Linked DNA regions of Homo sapiens: region 1 is linked to region 2. Evidence: promoter capture Hi-C in 16 types of primary human blood cells and fetal thymus (Javierre and others, 2016). All regions are on one chromosome and are shown on one strand. Each heading gives the region's core, a stretch centred on a gene start or on the middle of the fragment in contact. The rest is flanking DNA. Distances are from core to core; before and after follow the strand shown.

Evidence for each region. Contacts are between HindIII fragments. The CHiCAGO score rates a contact against its expected background, and 5 or more counts as called.
Region 1: a contact is called between the fragment with the promoter of HOXC11 here and a fragment that was not itself captured in region 2, in 1 of 17 cell types (total B cells). The highest score is 5.9, in total B cells.

Annotation. Positions count from the first base shown.
Region 1 is chr12:53,971,732-53,974,536 of GRCh38, forward strand. It overlaps HOXC11 (homeobox C11), which reads left to right and starts at 1,395. Exons shown (of 2, transcript NM_014212.4): 1 at 1,395-2,192. The coding sequence starts at 1,511. The region is part of intron 1 of HOTAIR (HOX transcript antisense RNA); the gene reads right to left. RefSeq lists an enhancer at 2,621-2,805. The HindIII fragment of the contact is 12,279 bases long and covers 1-2,805 here.
Region 2 is chr12:54,045,713-54,048,427 of GRCh38, forward strand. It overlaps a transcript of HOXC4 not described here. Among named protein-coding and RNA genes, the nearest start is that of HOXC4, 6.8 kb to the right of the region's middle. RefSeq lists an enhancer at 729-1,628. The HindIII fragment of the contact is 4,043 bases long and covers 1-2,715 here.

The sequences.
Region 1 (2,805 bases), core at 145-2,644, 74 kb before region 2:
GTTGCTTTTGGCCCCTTGGACCCAGTCCAGAACCTTTCAATAAAGTGATTTTCAGATGCCCACATGTGTCCTGTGGTGCTCAGAGGGATGGAAGGCAAGGGGTTGGGGATGCAGAATGACTGAGCCTACTTCTTGGGCTACAGCTATCCAGGAGGCTGACAGACTTGTAGGAGGGCAGGACAGGGCTGAGAAATAGGAAGGAGGCACTAAGATCTGGTCACAGCCCCAGGGACAGAGGCTGGGGGCTTTGACTAGGGAGTGGCCGCTGGGCCTCCCCTGATGCCACAGCATCCACCGCTCCTTTCCACTGTCTGGTTAGTCTCTTCTGGAGACCCATACCTGGCCCCACCACCCACCTTACAGTCCTCAAAATCATCCAAGGATAAGAACCCCAAACCTAGTCCCCCCCACCATATTCTTCCTGGACCCCTACACTAGGCTTCTTTTCAGCGCACTAGCTGAGGCTGAGCCACTAAGCCAAAGGGCCCTGACATAGAAGATACATGGCTCTCATTCCAATCCTTTTCTTTGGGGTTTGGGATTTGAAAATCCACAGTGGATGTAGCTTTCTTCACATTGATTGACAATAAAGGCAGGCATGAAATATTCACCCAGGGCCACTCTCTCATACTAAATATTTAACACAACATTAGAGAAGGTTTTTCCCAGACTTCGCCAGGCACCGGCTGGGCGGCTGGCGCACTGCTCACCACTCGTTTATGACTAATCTGACTCCCTAGCCAGGGGCAGCACAGCAAGCCAGACAAAGTTGGGACACTGGCTTGCAGCTGGGCTGCCTCACCTTTGGGAAACTTCAGATACTCTTCCGGGAGTCTCTCTAAGGACTCCAGAAAGGTAGTCTTGACACCCAGCTCTGGCCAGGAAAAGAGTGGACTTCTTCAAACTCTTGTGAACAGGCGGTGTCTCTGCGGGTTGGAAGGGTAAGAGTCCCTGAGATTTAAGGGAAAGGATTCACTTCTCTGGGGAAATCAGGCAGTGGGGAAAGAAGTCCTCACTCCCACCCTCCTGGTGCTGCTCACAGAGAGGAGGCAAGACCCCCATACATGAGAGCCCTCCTCCTTCCCCCAATCCTGGGGGAAAAAAGAGCAGCAGCTAGAAAAAAATACAATTACCCCTTCCCAGCCACCACCCTCGCCCATCCCACCGCCCACCCCACCCCAACCCTCTCTCTCCTCCTTTGCTCGTGCTGTGGTATGGAGAGAAGGGGAGTGACGAGAGAAAAACGAATACAAATCTGCAATTGATTTTCATAATGTTTCTGCGGTGTTTGCAAACCAATCGCCTGAACGTCCCCGATCTTACCTAAGAGAGAACCCCTCCTACGTCTGCGAAGTGCTCCGAACTGATATATGACAATATCTACTTTGGATCACGTGCTCAGAGAGAGAGAGACTAAGACGGATAACGCGTCATCTCGCCTTCCCAAATTTTCCCCCCTCGCTAGACCGGGTCCAAAACCTCCATCCGGAGCCGGCAGGAGAGGAGAACGATGTTTAACTCGGTCAACCTGGGCAACTTCTGCTCTCCGTCGCGCAAGGAGAGGGGCGCAGATTTCGGCGAGCGAGGGAGCTGCGCCTCCAACCTCTATCTGCCCAGTTGCACTTACTACATGCCCGAGTTCTCCACGGTCTCCTCCTTCCTGCCCCAGGCCCCCTCTCGTCAGATCTCCTATCCCTACTCGGCCCAAGTGCCCCCGGTCCGGGAGGTCTCCTACGGCCTGGAGCCATCCGGCAAGTGGCACCATCGGAACAGCTACTCCTCCTGCTATGCGGCGGCCGACGAGCTTATGCACCGGGAGTGCCTGCCTCCTTCCACCGTCACCGAGATCCTCATGAAAAACGAAGGCTCCTACGGCGGCCACCACCACCCCAGCGCCCCGCACGCAACCCCCGCCGGCTTCTACTCCTCAGTCAACAAGAACAGCGTCCTGCCTCAAGCCTTCGACCGTTTCTTCGACAACGCCTACTGCGGTGGCGGCGACCCGCCCGCCGAGCCCCCCTGCTCCGGCAAGGGCGAGGCCAAGGGGGAGCCCGAGGCACCCCCGGCCTCGGGACTGGCGTCCCGGGCTGAGGCGGGTGCCGAGGCGGAGGCTGAGGAGGAGAACACAAATCCCAGCTCGTCCGGTTCAGCCCACTCCGTGGCCAAGGAGCCGGCCAAAGGAGCCGCCCCCAGTAGGTAGCAGCGGCCGGGGAACGGGCGGGCAGCGAGGGAGGGAGCGAGAGAGGGAGGGCGAGAGAAGGGGGGAGGCAAGGGGAGCGGGGACGGCCTCGTGTTTTGGGTCAGTCCGATTTTATGTGGAGTTTTATAAGCATTCAAAGGATTTTATTATAACCTACAAAGCCCTCTCTCCCAACGACTCGACTTTTTACGATGGAGAAGGGGTGGGGAGGGAGGGAAAAGGGCTCTTTGGAAAAGCCGGGTGAACCCCCCTCCCCCGTTATCTCCCTCGGTCTGTGAAATTTTTAAAAGCGCAACCATTGCGGGCGATATTAACTTTGATCGTGAACTTAGAGGAGCATTTAAGGAAGTATGGGGAGCCGGGCTGCCGAGGAGTGGGGAGGAGGGGAGGGGTGGAGGGGGAGAAAGGGGAGGGCGAGGGAAAGACAGGGAGAGATCCAGAGAGGGGGAGAGGTGGGGGAGAGGAGCAATGGAGCAGAACCTGAGACCGGAGAGGCAAGCCAGGACCGCTATGATCCTTCTTAAAACTAGTTTTGAAAATGTTCAAACTATGTGTTCGCGGGTCCTCGAGCAGAAACCCAAGCAACTCTGGGGTCAGCGGCGACA
Region 2 (2,715 bases), core at 19-2,518:
GTGTCTATGATATAAAAAGATATTAGGTGAGTGGGGGTAGGGAACAAATATATTTTGGATGTTTGGCTTATTAAAGCAAGTAATTCTGTCTCTATTTCTAAGGCCATCTCCAAAATCTAGTCCCACTAAGTTATCTGTCCCTCGAAAACCTACTCTAGGGGTCATAGACTGCCTCCAGGCTGCCTCTGTGACCTGAGATCCAAGCCGAAGCTCCCTACCTCTCAAGGTAGCCACTAAAAAGAAGGGGGAGAGAAGAAAGGGGAGAGTCCTCCAGCCCAGTTCCTGTTGGATCCCCAGGGCAAGAGGCTGACAGGGGCTTGTATATCTCCCTACACCCCCCACTGGGCCTTTGAAATGTGGGGGAAAAAGGGATCAAGTCCCCAACTGTTTTTATAGGGTGCCCAAATGATGCCAGGGTTACTGCACAACCCATAGGTTCCTCCTCCCCAGTTGTTCTCGGTGCCCAGGGCCCAATTAAGCGGCCGCCTTGCGCCCAGCAGCCCCGCTCTTATCGGCTGGGATTGATGCCTCCGCGTCTCCTGTATATCATTTCCAAGATTTTTTCTGTCCAACTCCTCGGCTCCTTTGGCTTCCGCGGCTTTGACTAATGATTGCTACAGATGCCAACGTCTCCAGAATCCTAATAGCCAGGCAGGCGGACTCTTATTTACCCGGCAACATTGCTGTGGGGGAGGGGGCCTGGGGGACAAGTATTGGGGTGTCGTAGGTCAGGGGACAGGGAGAAGGTTGTGGCCAACTCAAGTGTCACTGAACTTCTTCCCAGTCAGAAAGACATTCCCAATCCCCTTCTCTCCTTGAGGGAAATATATATATATATATACACAGTTAATGGTAACTCATTGCTGCCTCGTTAGAAAAGATCAAAGAATGAACACAACGTGGTAGAATAAGCAGAGCAATGTTTATTTGTTGTAAATAAATGAGAGAATAAGTGGAAAACCAGCAGTTTGGGGAGGAAAAAGAGAAAGGGAAAGAAGTCAGCCACAGTGGGAGAAGGGGCTCCTTTTCTTCATTTCTTGTCTTCCCCTTTCTCTCCCCACCCTAAGTCTACCCTTCTCATCAATTTCTCCCCTCTTTCCCTTCCTTCGCCTCACCTTCAATCCCTTGGGTGGAGGGGCTGAACAGCGTGTTCCCGGGCGGAGGTGCGCGCAGCCACCCCAGGCTGCTGCCAGGTGCCCGCTGGGGCTGCCAGGGCGAGGAGGCCTCTGGGCTGTGGAGCGAAAGTCAGATCCACCGCCTACTGCGGGGTAGGGGCCGCAGTGGGGACCGCCAGCCCTGTGGTCCCTCTCGCGCTGACTGGCGTAAAGTTGTGGCCGAATTCGCATCTCTTCTGGTGCTTCTCGCCCGCCAGCGCAGGGCCCAGGTGTTTGAGGCGAAGGGGCTCTAGCTCCCCGCAAGCCTGGAGCCAGGCGTCGCGCTTCCTCCGGGCTTAATCCAGACCTTTCAACACACACCTCATTCGGGGGAGGAGAAAAGCACAGGACCGCGGAGAGCCCAGCTTTGAGGCCAGGCCTGAAGGGATAACCCACACAGGGAACGTTTTCCTATCAGAGAATAATGGAGCACAAAATAATTCAGAAAGCGAATGGGCAGGACCACAGCCTGAGAGTCCCGCGCCGCGGGGCCGCTGCAGAGCCGGTCTCCCGAGCACCGCGGCAGGACCATTTCGTTGGAATGTAGGGCGAGGCCGAAGCCCGCCCCGGACCCAGGCCGCGAGGTGCGCGCCGGCCGCCGAGGGGCCGCCTGTAAATTACAGCCCGCCGGGAGGACTCGGAAATACACAAAAGGAGCCGAAAGATTTAAACAGTCGGAGGCAGAGGCGTCCCGAGGCGGCCAAAGCGGAAATCAATCACGTAATTAAAACAGGGAGGGGACGAAGCCCAAGGCTGGGGGTCCCGGGTTCGGAGGAGGCGGCCAAGGTGCAGGCCGAGGCTGGCGAGCGGCTTAGGGACGTGGCTCGCCCGCCAGGACCAGAGCGCGCGGAGGGGCTTCGGGGAAGTTTATAACACATCGCTATTGATTCCCGCTTGGCTAGGAAGAGCAGACTCTGGTGCCCTCTCCCAGGCCAGACCCTGAAGCCTCCGATGGCCCCTTCTCCGACTTTCCCGTTTTTGTGGGGTTGAGACGCGCAGTTGCAGTTGAAGGCCGCTCCCCAGATCCCACTGGTGCCACGATTTTGCCAAGGCAAGTTTGCGAACCCAAATGGCATCAAGATGCTGCCTTTGGGTTTGAGGGGATGGAGGGAGGTGACACCCCAGTTTCAGGCACTAAGAAATCTCTCTCGGCCTTGATTCCTCCAACCCAGGATTCAAAGCATGCCCGGAAAGACTCTGATCTATGGGCCGAGGCTTGGAAGGGGTGTGCGAGGCAGACGGGGTTATTAAAGGGAGAGCTTGGGGCTGAGCAAACTGGACCCCTTTGGGCTGGAAAGGAGAAAGAACAGCTCCTGGAAGAGAAAAAAAGGCACACCGGGAGCTGTGTTTTGTGAGGGGAAGATCTTATTATTGAGGTTAATCATGGTAATGATCTGGTATGGCTGGGTCAGCCCAGGAGACCGCGCTCTCCAAAGTTCTTTCTCACAGAGGTTTCTCTGGGGGAGTCAAGGGTTCCCCAACTTCACTATGGTTGGGGAAAATAAAATAAAGACCTCCAATCCTCTCCTCTGCCTTTTCCTCTCCCTCCCTTAAAAACTCC